2 separate regions of the Homo sapiens genome follow, and region 2 is linked to region 1. Evidence: promoter capture Hi-C in 16 types of primary human blood cells and fetal thymus (Javierre and others, 2016). All regions are on one chromosome and are shown on one strand. Each heading gives the region's core, a stretch centred on a gene start or on the middle of the fragment in contact. The rest is flanking DNA. Distances are from core to core; before and after follow the strand shown. Region 1 holds the start of RSL24D1 (ribosomal L24 domain containing 1). Region 2 holds the start of DPH6 (diphthamine biosynthesis 6).

Region 1 (6,887 bases), core at 3,455-5,954:
TGCTTGTAATCCCAGCACTTTGGGAGCTGAAGTGGGTAGATCACCTGAGATCAGGAGTTGGAGACCAGCCTGGCCAACATGGTAAAACCCAGTCTCTACTAAAAATGCAAAATTAGCTGGGCGTGGTGGTTCATTCCTGTAATCCCAGCTACTGGGGAGGCTGAGGCAGGAGAATCGCTTGAACCCGGGAGGCAGAGGTTGCAATGAGCCGAGATCACGCCACTGAACTCCAGCCTGGGTGACGAAGCAAGACTTCATCTCAAAAAAAAAAAAAAATTAAGAAATCTGAGAGATAATTTCTGATCTTTTGAAGTTGATGTCAAGATGGCTAACAATCTATTTAAGACATGTTTCACTTGGTATTTTTATAAATTGGAAATCTCTATGGTGGTATTTCCAGCTCTTCTGTTATTGGTAATATAGGTATTTATAAAACTAATAAGCTCTTCCATTATAAGATACTTAGATAATGCTGGATAAAGTATGAACATATTTTTTAAAAATGTACCGATGATTTCTCAAAAAAATATGGGCAATGCCCTAAGACCACCTCCTTCCCCTTAAAAACAGACAACAGATGGAACTTAAAACAACCTGATGCTGATTGTGGTTTGCTTTTGGTTTGGTTTTGCCAGTATCGGTAATCAGGATGCTTTGTTATAATGGCTACAAAGAATTAGTAAAGAAAACCTTGGGCCTGTTGAGAATAGGGTGATGAAACTGCAGCCCTCTGTCCCCAAACACACAGAAATCCAGGACCTGCTCTATGGTTTTTTTTTTTTTCTTATTCTTCTTTTTGAGATGGAGTCTTGCTCTGTCGCCCAGGCTGGAGTGCAGTGGTGCGATCTTGGCTCACTGCAACCTCTGCCTCCCGGGTTCAAGCAATTCTCTGCCTCAGCCTCCCGAGTAGATGGGATTACAGGCACCCACCACCACACTCGGCTAATTTTTGTATTTCTAATAGAGATGGGGTTTCACCATCTTGTCCAGGCTGCTCTTGAACTCCTGACCTTGTGATCCACCCACCTTGGCCTCCCAAAGTGCTGGGATTACAGGCGTGAGCCACCGTGCCTGGCCAACCTAGTCTATGCCTTTAATCTCTTGTGAAAATTTACAACTACAAGTCGGCTTGAACACAGGTTTAAGGTTAAAGTGTATAATACCTAATTTTTCTGGGTATGTTCAATCAAGAAATTAACAAAAATTAACATTTTAAAGAAGGGATTTGTTCTGGATTACTTGGTGGAAGCAAAGCAAAAATGTTTACAGATGGAATTTCTGCACAGGCCAAAAAACACCCTACTATGGATGAGATTACAATGAAAAATTACAATCTATTTCTTCTTCATTCTTACCTCCAGTCATTAGCAAGGGCCAGCAGACCAAACAGCCAGCAGGATTTGGCATTTAAGAACCTCAAATAATATACTTATCAGAAGCAGACCATAAAGTCAAAGTGTTTAAGATAATCACAAACATGAAAGGAACTAAAAAATCCAGAAAAGAAGACAATATTAAAGATAACAGACTGGTTTGAATTAAAAAAAAAACAAAAAAACAAAAACTTCCAACAGTGAAAAATACAGCCATTGATATTCAAAACTTAATGGTTAGAGGTTAAATGACAGGTTTGACAGAGTTGAAGAGGAAATTCTAGAAGGCAGGTCAGAGGAAATTACCCATAATTCAGCAGACAGAGATAAGGAGAAAGTCCTGGAGGGGTTAAAAGACACAGAGGGAAGAAAAAAAGCTCCAACTTATATCTAGTAGGAATTCTATGAGGAGAAATTAGAGAAACTGAAGGAAGAGGCACTATATGAAAAGATAATAGCTGAGAATTTTCCAGTAATGATAAAAGACACATACCCTTAGATTTAGGAATCATAAATCCTAAGAAGGATAAATGGAATCATATTTCCAAGATTTCAGTTCAATCTTGTATTCCATTAAAATAGATGGAAAGAAAAAAACAATTTCTAAGGCTGGCTATACACACACTCATTCTAAAGTGAAGCACTGAATATGTTCATGGACTGAAGGGAACAAAGTCTCAGATGAAGCCTTAAGGTATGAAATTAAGAACACAGATAAATGATGTGGCCTCTGACATCAAAGGTAAGAGGGTAAACCTGGGTGTTCATGTATATGGGAAGGGTATAAAATTTCTTGGTGAAGTAGTAGGAACAAACAGAGTTGGGAAGGAACTGTGTAAAGTTTGCAAAGATTGGTGAGGCTCTTCCATAATTGTTGAGGAGGATAGGAGAGGAAGAGTAAAGAAAAGTAAAATAATTTTCAGTCTCTTGGTTGACAATAAAGTATTGGGCAGATGTTTATTACTAAAATTTCTGGTATGTGCCTTTGTTATTTAACATTACTCTGGAATTACTGGTCGAATGACTAGACAAGAAAAAGTATCCAATAAAAGGAAAAATGTGTGTATTTGAAGATTATAACTATACAAACTGATTCTAGAGTTAAAATGAAAAGATAAATGTTGAAGAATAGCCAGATAAAAAATGAATAAGAAGGACAAGGAAGGAAGGGTGATATGGTTTGGCTGTGTCCCCACCCAAATCTCATCTTGAATTATAGCTCCCATAATTCCTATGTGTTGTGGGAGGGACTTGGTGGGAGATAATTGAATCATGGGGCCAGTTTCCCCTACACTGTTCTCATGATAGTGCATAAGTCTCACGAGATCTGATTATTTTAAAGGGGTTTCGCCTTTCATTTGGTTTTCATTCTCTTTGCCTGCTGCCATCCATGTAAGACCTGACTTGCTCCTCCTCGGCTTCTGCTGTGATTGTGAGGTGTCCCCAGCCATAAAGAGTCCATTAAACCTCTTTCCTGTATAAATTGCCTAGTCTAGGGTATGTCTTTATCAGCAGCATGAAAACTAATAGAAAGGGAGAGGAGGTAAACCCAGTTATTCAAAAAATGACAATAATTTAAATATTTGGGCAGTGGCACATTAACAAATAAAACGATGGAACTGAGTCCAGAAATGGAGCCATAGATGTGACATTATGAGTGAGTGGGGGAAAGGATGCTTTATCAACATACAGCACTGAGGGAAAGACACTGGAGTCTTATGTCATTTATACTTAAATTCCAGACGAGTTGAAAATTCAAATGCAAAAAAATGAAACTACAAAACATAAGAGAAAACATTTTGAAAAACAATTTTGGAGTGAGAAGTGCAGTTTAAAGGAAAGTACCAAATCCAAAATCATAAAAAAATTGGATAAATCTGAATATATAAACAACATATTTCTGCATGGAAAAATACCATGAGCAAAGCTTAAAACATTGATAGGGAAATAATTTCTAAATGCATGTCAGCAAAGGACTAACCTTAACGTGTAAAGTGCTGTTGAAAATCAACGAAAGAATAGAAAACTGCGTAGGACCTGAACAGGCAATTCACAGAAAAAAGCTGAAAAACATTGTGAAAGATTCTTAACATCATTTGTAATTAAATTCAAGTTGAAATAATAATAAGATAAATTTTCATCTCAGGTTGGCAAAGATCACTTTTCACAGCGGGGTAGTGAAACAGACATCTTATTTGTTGATGCTGAGTGTTAATTGGTAAAAACTTTTGGAAGGCAATTTAGTATTATCTGCCAAATTTTAAAACTATTTATCTATATCCAGCTCCTCTGATCCAGCAGTTCTACATAAACCCTCTCCTGAAAAAGCGTACCAACAGATACTTATTATATCAAAAGATAAGAATGCCCATCGATTAGTGACCAATTAAAATACTTTCATACAATGGCATATATATATGAAAAAGAATGTTAAATACCCTTTTACAGTAAAATATGTATCAAATGCCTATTATGTGCCAGGGACTGTTCTAGATACTGGGATGTAGTTGTAAACCAAACGAACTGAAATCCCTGCCCCTCATGGAGCTCACATTCCAATGAAGGGATACAAGGTAACAGCAAGATGCAGAAAAGAGTAAATAGCATATTAACTAGTATTATAAAGAAGAGGACGTAGAGACAGGCAAACACACAAATATACATGTTTGCCTATGCACAGAAAAGCTCTGGCAGGTAATAAATGGAACTGTTTTGCCCCTGGGGAGGAAGACCGCAGGTCTAGGGAGGGAGTCGTAGTTTCCGGCGAAAATATTTGTTTACTACATATGCATATTAATTAAAATGGGGGGGAGGCGGATAACACGATTTTATATTTAAAAAAATTGCTGGTAAAGTCCTTGGAGCATCAGCAACTCAACCGTTTTCATTGCAATGTTCGAAGCAACGCTGGATTGCAGGGTCTTCGCCGCTTACACCCTGCAAATCACTGTGGGACGAGAATCGAGGGCTGGTCTAGGGCAGGCAGTAGACAAATGAGTTAAGAGAGTGCTCTCGAGAGCACTCCGAGGCAAAGCACAAACCAAAGATACATAATACTTGCATAAATGCCGACACACAGAGAGAAAAAACTAGGCGCTGTGAGAGCAAGTTCACAAGGTGGCGCAGAACCACATTTCCCCAAAGTAACAGCGAACAGGTCTAGTCTGCAGCTCTGCGCCTGCGTCAAACGGCAGCGCATTTGACCACACGGCCGCCGGAGGCACAGTCGTGTTCGCATCTGGTCTAACAGACCCGCGAGAACGAAGGACGCTTGCCTTTTTCCGGTCGGGGAAGGGGGAAGAAGGTAACTTCCGGTGACGGGGTTGCATCACTTCCTCTCAAGCTTGGCGTTTGTTTGGTGGGGTTACACGCGGGTTCAACATGCGTATCGAAAAGTGTTATTTCTGTTCGGGGCCCATCTATCCTGGACACGGCATGATGTTCGTCCGCAACGATTGCAAGGTAAGGCGGTCGACACCAGTTCTTGCTTCAGCCTAGCTCCCGCGGTTCCTGGGCGCGGCGGCTCGGTGCTGGGTGCTTCTGCGTCTGCCGTGTTTGGCCCGGGTTCCTCCCGTTGTTCCCCTGGGAGGGTGGCTTAACTGGGCCTCCGTTCTCAACGTTCCGCTTCGGGGGTTTCTCCTTGCCCGTCTTCCGAGCGGCGCTGGCCACCACGCCACCCTTGGGTGGCGTTGGCAGCGAGGAACTTCAGGAGCGATCCCAGCTAGCGCCTACCAGGAATCTTGGATGTCTGTGAGGGCTGTTTGGCCACTCATGTACTTGGGCCAAATTCTTGAATCCAGTAAACTTTGTTGAGTGTATACCCTGTCAGGCATTACACTAAGGTCCATACTAAAGTGTAGAGGTTGATGGAAGTGTTCCGTATTGCTTAATGGTAGAGTTATGTATTAAGTTACTGCAGGTGAGTTGGGGAGGGTCCTGTACGGAAAGACTCAGCATAGAGGTGATATTTATCTTGGATCCTGAATTTTGCGGAAGAAAGCGGAGGGGGCCTTCTAAGTGGAAGGAAAGTGAACATTTTGAGAAAAGGCAGAGAACGGAGCAAATACATTTGTTTGAGGAAGTGACTGGATTGTAAATGATGATAGAGCCTTGGGCGTAGGGCTACAAGTATAATAAGTCTGTAAACGTAAATAATAAATATGAGTCCTAGTTGTGAAAGACGTTTTGAATGGTACATGAATTTGTCCTGTCATTACAGAATGAATCCCGTTCCTCTCTTTCTCAGAGAAACACATTGTTTCTCAGAATTTGATCTCTTACGTTTGCTTCTGAATTACTGGGCGTTTACAGATTCCTGGTTTTCACCAGATCTATTGAGTTGGAATCTTTGGGGGAGGGGAAGAGGGTCTAAGAATCTGTATATTAAGGTGAATTTGACGTGCTAAATAATTACAAGTCTGACTTCTTCACCTTATATCTCTGTAACAGATCAAAGATATTGACCTCATTAATTAGATCCAAGGGATTCAGCTGAAAGTGACGGACCAAAGCCATGTTTGATAACGTAAAAGAACCTAGAAGATTTTGAATACTTGCTCTCAGGAACATGATAAGAAGTTTATAAAAATGAACCAAAAGATTGCCAGGTTGGGGTCTAATTCAGAGTAGGCAGTATGGTTTTATACATGATGTCGTTACGATTTTGTGATTTTCGTCCAGGATGCTTGTCGGCTGGATATTGGAATTAGAACAACAGATCGTGAGAACTGTCAAGACCTGGGTATTGATTTGGTAGACACAGTGGAAGTTAAGTTGATGAAGAATAAGGACAGTGTTGAGTTGGTTGGGAGTCACCAGTGGATCCAGAAGAGAGTTGTTGGAGGAAATAAAAGATAGAGGGCCTGAAGCACTAACAAAGAACAAGTATCTCATCTTTTTTTATGCTTGATTTCCAAACCTAAATCTCCTGAGCTCCAAATCTGAATTTTCCATTGGATGTACCTAACAGTAGGTACAGTGGGCCTACTGAAAGAGAATTCCTTAGTACCTCAGATCTTTTTGCTCTGTGAATTAATACCACTCTTAAGTGCCCGGATAGTTTTGCTAGAAACATGAGAGTCGTCTGAATCTTTTCACCTTTTGTATCTAGTTATCAAGTCTTACCTATCCTGCCTCTGCAAAGATAGTGGTGTCTTTGCCTTCTTTCTACTTTCCTGTCCTAGTTCAGATTAGGCTCTTACCACTTTTATAGCCTCTTATCTAGCCTTTTTTTTTTTTTTTTTTTTTGAGACAGGGTCTCACTGTCTATTGCCCAGGCTGGAGTGCAGATGTGTGATCATGGCTCTCTGCAGCCTCAGTCTCCTGTACTTAAGCAGTCCTCCCTCCTCAGCATGCTGAGTAGCTGGGACTACAGGTGTGCACCACCATGCCCAATATCAAAAAAATTTTTTGTAGAGACGGGGAGATTAACATTGTGTGTGTGTGTGTGTGTGTGTGTGTGTGTGTGTAGAGACAGAGGCTTGCTATGTTTCCCAGGCTTTAACTAGTCTTTCT
Region 2 (7,039 bases), core at 430-2,929, about 20 Mb after region 1:
TCGGCATGAGACGAGAGCCCTGGTGCTTCTTCCACTCATTGGAGCTGTATCATTTTAAGTGTGTTTCACGTATTTATCTCCTCCAATTAGACTGCAAACTTCTTAAATACTTGACTCATTTGGTAAATATTCATAACTGCAAAATCTTAAAGCTGTATGATTCTAGACGCTAAAACTGATATGTAGACTGTCACTGCTCTAGTCACCCCTACTATTAGAGTTGAGAATGTCAAAATAAAATTGAATGCTTACTATGTACCTGGCATAATTTTAAGTTCCCTACATATATTAACTTACTTAATTCATGCCTTTGGCATCATCCCTCATGACTTTCTTTCTCTTGTATCCCATATCGAATTTGATTCTATTGGCTCTATCTTCAAAATAGAGCTGGAATCCTCTTACTTCTCACCAAATTCACCATGTTGATTCTAGGCTCCGCCATCTCTCTACTGGAACACTGTAACAGCTTCCTAATAGGTGGATTCTCAACACTGCAATCCTTTTAAAATTTTAAGTCACACCCTTCAAAAGTCTGCAATTACCTACAAGACCCTATATAATCCTTCCCCTCCATCACCTTAACCTGCTCTCCACTACTCTCTGCTTTGCTCAATCTGCTCCAGCAACACGGATCTGCCTTAATCTTCCACAAACACACAACGCACCTAGAGCCTTCGATTTTTTTTTCTTGTCTGGAGCACACCCCAATCATACACATAGCGAACTCTCCTTATTTAAATTGGCTCAACTCTCATCTTACCAATAAGGCCTACATAGACACGATTTAATTCTGCAATTTGCCTCTCCACCTCTCTCCTGACTCTCCCCCACCGCACCCCGCCCCTTTCCAATAGCACTTTTCACTCTTCAACAGACTATTTACCTTTAAGATATGTATTGTCTGTTCTCTCCATCCCCATTTAAGCTCTATGCCCGGAATGCCGGGTTTTTGTTTTATTTACGGTTGTATCCACAGAGTCTAAAACAGTGCCTGGTACACGAAAGGCACTCAATACATACTTGGCAAATAAACTTAGAAGCTAGATTTTCTTTCTGCAAGGCCATTGCTCTTTGGTGAAGAGCCTGGCCTGGCCTTGTCAAATACACAAGCTTGACCAAGAGCCAAAGCCACAGAGGGCCTAGAGGTGGGGGGGGCTAGCCCCAGATTTAAAAATTACCACAGCCCCTGGGGATCTGAGTTTCACATCTGGACACACAGGTTTGGAGGACAGAGGAGATGTAAGTTAAAAAGCAGAAGTGTACAGTTGTTTCTGTTCTGTGGGGTGAGGAAGGACAAATTTCTTCTGCGCTTGCACGTCCGCAACTGTGTCAATTTGCAGCAATTGGGACGCTAAATCCCCTCTTACCAAAACAAATCCTGCGCCACTGGGCTTGGGCTCTGCAACGCGGACCTTGCCCTTCCCCCGGCAGCTTCAGTGCCCTCACTTAGGTGGTTAGGCCGTGCCTAAACCTCATTCTTTCCTGGGCCGAGATGTCCCTGCCACAGGGTCAAGGTGCCAAGGTGCCGCACCCTCCGCGCTCAGGTGTCCCGCAGGCAGCCGCGGGGCTCGCAGCGCCGATCCGCGGACAGGCGGCGGAGCGAACACCCGGGCGAGGCCCCGCGGTGCGTCACGCGAGCTGCGGCGCGACCTCCTGGCTCCCGCCCGCGCTCGCCGCACGCACGCGCACTGCGCCCAGCATGAGGGTCGCGGCTCTGATCAGGTAATGCGGTCCTGGAGCCGCCTCCTTCCTCCTAGGCCAGGCTCTCGTCCCTTCCAGCCGCCGCTAGCGCCGAAAGAGTGGGTGTCTCCGTCTGAGTCGCGCGTTGGGGGTTCCGCGGCTCCTCCGAGCCACAGGAAGAGGCGGAGCCTTCGCTGTTGCCGGCCCGCATGTGCCTCGGCCCCTGGCTGGCGCGCCTCCTCCCTGTCTGTCGCTCTCTGGTCTTCTAGCCCTTAAACTTGGATTCCCATTGGATTCAAGTGGGAAATTAAAAAAAGTACCGACGCCTGGGCCCCACCGCCAGAGGGATTGGTTTAATTACTTCTGTGCGACCCGGCGTCTGATTTTTTTTTTTCAAGCTCTAATGAGCCGTGAAGTTTGGAGCCACTACCTTATTCCATCAACTCAGTTAATAACCCTCGCCCTTTCCCCCTCGCTTTCTTCGTCCTCTTCTGTAGTTCCTTTGGTCAGCTGGGTCCGCCGCAGCCTGGCTTCCTCCCTAGTTGTAAGTGTTTCCGCCCATCCCAAGAAGTCCACCCCTCCCTCATCTTCACAGATGTGGATTGCTTATGGCATGTGTGTGTTTCTGCCTTTGGGCACTCAAGTACAGAGATCTCTCTTCGTGGTAGAGACCGAATTGTACTAGTCTTATGCTAGATCCAGTTGCTGTTGCTTCGGACTCTCATCATTGCTTTAGAGTGACCTTACCCTATACTCCGTATTCCAAAAGGAGTTTGATGTCTGTAGTAACCAAATCATAAATTTAAGTGTCTAAATAAGTCCTGTGACTGACAAACCAAAAACAAACCTGCTTAAATATTTCCATACTCAATCTATAAACTGAGGCAGAAGGGAACACACTAGCAACATTAAAAAGTTAGACTACTTAAATACTTGTTTCATGAGATTTTGCCCTGTAGAGTGTCTTAGATACAGTGCAACGATGTGCTTGCTTTTGTAATCCAATTGAAGATTTCATAAACGTTTTCGTTAAGTCCCTTAGGTAATTGATACTGGCTGTAAGTTTTGACCTATTAAGGACTTGATATGAGATTTCAGACCTACTGTAGTGTCTGGAATATTCCGGTTCCCTTTCCTTCAATGTCATTTTTAGGAGACTAGACCATAATGTCACAATAATTATTGTTGTTCAGTAAATGTCCTCTGTAACATAAATGATTAAGCTTTAACCATTGTGTCTTATTTTAAGAATTAAAAGTACCCCAGGAAGTGAATAATTCAAATTTACATCGCTTGCCAAAAGTTTAACGATTAAAGTAAAGCACAACAAACAAAGACTTAGAAGTATTGGAGGGGAGGAGAGAAGATTGGTAGAGTCAGTTACACTAAATAACCTGTAATGTGCATATGTTGCTTTATAATAAAAAAAGTTTGCTAAAAAAGCAATGTTGGAAAATTCTTGCTGAAGCGTAAGAGCTGTAAGGACATATGCTGTAAGTATGAATACGTAAGCATTTACCTGTATGCTTATGATACAGATGCCTATGTATTCTATATATATGCATTATATATAATTATGTATTATAAGTGAATAAGTGAAACTGGGATTCTTACATATCTTTCTAAGAAGATTATTTTCCTTTTTTAAATTTTTTTTTTATTATACTTTAAGTTCTGGGTTACATGTGCAGAACGTGCAGTTTTTTTACATAGGTATACATGTGCCACGGTGGTTTGCTGCACCCATCAACCCATCACCTACATTAGGTATTTCTCCTAATGTTATCCCTCCCCTAACCCCCAAACCCCCACAGGCCCCAGTGTGTGATGTGCCCCTCCCTGTGTCCATATGCTCTCATAGAACATTATTTTTCTAATAAATAAATGAGTCTTTGAATTTTATAGTTGAATGTTATTTTGAGGATTATCCAGGCAGACCATTCATTAATTTGCAATGAAGTATGCAAACCTAAGCACATTGAATAACTTAGCTTAGTATCCCAGAGTTGGAAACTAAAATAGAGCTGTGAGACCTCTCACCTAACATACATGTGTACTTAATGGAGTTCTAAGAGGACAGTAAGGTACTCTGCATTTCCCAAGCTTGTCTGATATTCAAAACCTTTTGTTAGAGTAATTGGTTAGTATTTTGTTGGACACCAGTGTTCCACAGAACACAGTTTGGTAAATACTGCTTAAAACCATATTTGAAATGTTGGCATATTTCAAAATAAATTGTCAGACTCAGTTCTGATTCTGGATGCACACCCTTCAGTCTTTAATATCTGAAACAATTAGTCATATCTTTTTATCCTGGGGAATCAGAGCAGTAAGGTTCGATATGGGAAGTTGTGGAAGACCTACTTATGGGGATACCGAACCTGAAGAGAGGAAGAATGGACTTTTTAAAACTTCACTTTGGCCCTTGTGCTCTCCTTCCACTTGAGAAGTTTTGGAATGAGAGTTGTTATTGATGGGAGGGTGGAAGAGGCAGAAATGTTGAAAACTAAGATAAAAGGCAACAAGGCCAGTTTCTGAGGTGCTCAGTTTCTTGAGCTATGAAGAGGTCTAAACATTGCCTGGGGATTTGCAGGCCTTAAGCAAATATTGGAAAGAAGGGAAACAGGAGGAAAAAGAAATGTAAAAGGGAGAGAGGCAATGATAAATGATAGTGGGAATTAGGAGAATATTAAATTACAATAGCATATAGATTGCCATTCAGCCATATTATAGATGAGCTACTGCTTGTCTTTACTAAGTGATATGCGTCTGCCTTAGGTAGATTTAGAACCAGAATTTAGAAGTTCCTTTCAATGTGTTACTACATTTATAGCTCAAGCCTAGTTCTGCTGCCATCATATATATATATATATATATATATATATATATATATATATATATTATGTGTATGTGTGTACTATATGTATGTGTAGAGATGGCTGAAGTGCTGATAGTGCTGATGTTTCACGTCATCAGTGTAAGTCAGCATCTTGTTTTTTATCTCTGCAGAATTTGAACCCACCAAGTGTGTCAAACTTTGTCATTAGCTAGGTACTCAAATCTTTAATTTGATCCTTTAATTGCTGATGGTAGCCATTTGTTAGATTTCTTATGGTGGAGCAGAATTTGTTTTTTTTTTTACTTTCTCATAGAGAATAGTTTTTTTTTTCCCAATAATTTCTATGAAATTATTTTATATATATATATATATATATTCCTTAAGTGGAATAATATATATTATATATATTCCTTAAGTGGAATAATATATATTATTATATATATTCCTTAGGTAGAATATATATATTTCATATATAATTATATAATAAATGTTTAGCTGGGATGTAAATTGAAATCATTTTCTATTTGCAAATCACTTCAAATATATTTGCTATCACAAAGCAAAAAGTTACCATATTTTGTTTAGAATATTCTTATATATATATAGTTTCTTAAGCTCCTGTGAGTAGCAGCCCTAGACATTCAGATTCGGTTGCTCAGTTTGTTTATGATTTAGAAATTAATGGGTTTTTTTTGCATTGTAATATATTCTGAAGAGTCAAGTAAATGATATGTTCTGTTTTGATATCTAGTGATTTTATGTTGAATAATGGTCAGTAGCATGATATTTGTCCCTCTCTTGATTTATTGTTTAGTGGTGGGAAGGACAGCTGCTATAATATGATGCAGTGCATTGCTGCTGGGCATCAGATCGTTGCTTTAGCAAATCTAAGACCAGCTGAAAACCAAGGTAAGTACATGCCTTTATTGGGAAGTTGCCTAAATGAATGAAATTCCAACTTCATAATTACATTGTACAGGTATACCGTACAAAGATGAAAAAAAAAGAACCAATAAATATTAAGCACCCATTAGATGCTAGTTTCCACCTAGAACTTAGCATTAAGTGTTTTCACTTACTTTTTAATTCTCATAACCAACTTCTATAGAGATGCACTATTAATCTTAATAGACAGGGATCCTGAAGCTTAGAGTTTGTCTGAAGTAAACTAGCACAAACTTGTAGAGTTAAGACTTGAACCTTCTTACTTCAAAGTACACTACCATTTTACCCCACCACATTCCCAAGTACTGTAGGCAGCATAGAGGTAGATAAGATACAGTCTCAGGCCTCAAGGAGCTTGAGAAGTAAGACACATATTGATAAATGATATATTAATTTTATTATTAAAAGGATACAGTTTACCTATTTTAGATGTAAGCCAGAAATGTGAGACTTGAGAGAAGCATAAAGCAATGCATTCCCACTTTTCATTTGTCTGTAGTAACAAGGGCATCCACATATAATTCACAGACCTCATATTGACTACTTTTTTCATTCTTTTCTCCAATGAAATATCCCCAATTATAGCTTTTGAAAAAAGAAATATATTCACCAATTTGCTTTTTAATGCTATTGTGTTATACCTATGAAACTACAGATATTAACTGCTAAAATGTAAGAGGGAAAAAAGATTAGCACTTTTGTGACTTTTGTATTACTGCTTCTCACAGGACTTTTCTAGTAAGATCTTTTTATTCTCTCTTTTACTTCTTTCCAGGCTCCATGTTTTTGCACTGTTATTTTAAGATTAATTAAATGAGTGGTGTATGTGAGAACATCAGTCGTAGTTCCTGTCATGAAGTAGGCATTCTGTAAATTTAGCTGAATTGGAATCTAGCTAAATACTTGTTTTATATCTTTAAATGGATTGATTATAAGCTTCTTGAGAAGAGAGATCATATCTTCTATCTTCCTTTTATTGCTCCTCATCACTTGGGCCGGCTCTATGCCTCTGGTAGGAGTTCACGCAAGGTTGATTGGTGGACAGGTGTATAATGAACTAATTTGGATTAGCCCTGGAATAGTGAGCAGTTATTTCAGTCAGATATTTGAATCTTCTTTCCTTCTGTGATTAAGATGTAAGTAATGCTGGATGTCGTGTGGAAAGACAGAGTTTAGAAATATTTTATAGGAAGAAATGGAAAGGTCCCACAGAGAGTCAGAGGTAAATGCACATGTTTGGATTTTGTGCTGCAATTGATGAGTAACAGATGGTTTTTTAGAAGTGATGTTTTTTGAAAGAGTTCCAACTTTAAGAAAGAGAAAATTCTTTGAGGATGAATAGGAACTGCACTCTAACTTCTGTATTATAAAAGAAGAAGCAGAATCTCCTGTTAGGTTTACCAAAAGAGAGAAACTCCCTTATCCCTTGTGGCCAGGGGGAGGCAACTGGGACTTTCAAGCTATCTTGTGAAGTTAAAAAGCAGATGTTTATATAGTATATAATACATACATGGTATATTATAATTTCATCACTGGAGTTTCTATCTTGTTTTCAGCTTTCACATGAATTAT

What was found. Contacts are between HindIII fragments. The CHiCAGO score rates a contact against its expected background, and 5 or more counts as called.
Region 2: a contact is called between the fragment with the promoter of DPH6 here and the fragment with the promoter of RSL24D1 in region 1, in 4 of 17 cell types (total CD4 T cells, total B cells, non-activated CD4 T cells and 1 more). The highest score is 9.3, in total CD4 T cells.

What each region holds. Positions count from the first base shown.
Region 1 is chr15:55,194,758-55,201,644 of GRCh38, reverse strand. RSL24D1 (ribosomal L24 domain containing 1) reads left to right here and starts at 4,704. Exons shown (of 6, transcript NM_016304.3): 1 at 4,704-4,835. The coding sequence starts at 4,755. RefSeq lists enhancers at 4,740-4,899, 4,693-5,584. The HindIII fragment of the contact is 1,416 bases long and covers 3,303-4,718 here.
Region 2 is chr15:35,540,805-35,547,843 of GRCh38, reverse strand. It overlaps DPH6 (diphthamine biosynthesis 6), which reads left to right and starts at 1,679. Exons shown (of 9, transcript NM_080650.4): 1 at 1,679-1,725; 2 at 5,337-5,431. The coding sequence starts at 1,703. DPH6-DT (DPH6 divergent transcript) reads right to left here and starts at 1,649. Exons shown (of 3, transcript NR_038251.1): 1 at 1,371-1,649. RefSeq lists silencers at 1,207-1,256, 1,557-1,696 and an enhancer at 1,744-2,678. The HindIII fragment of the contact is 1,793 bases long and covers 1,116-2,908 here.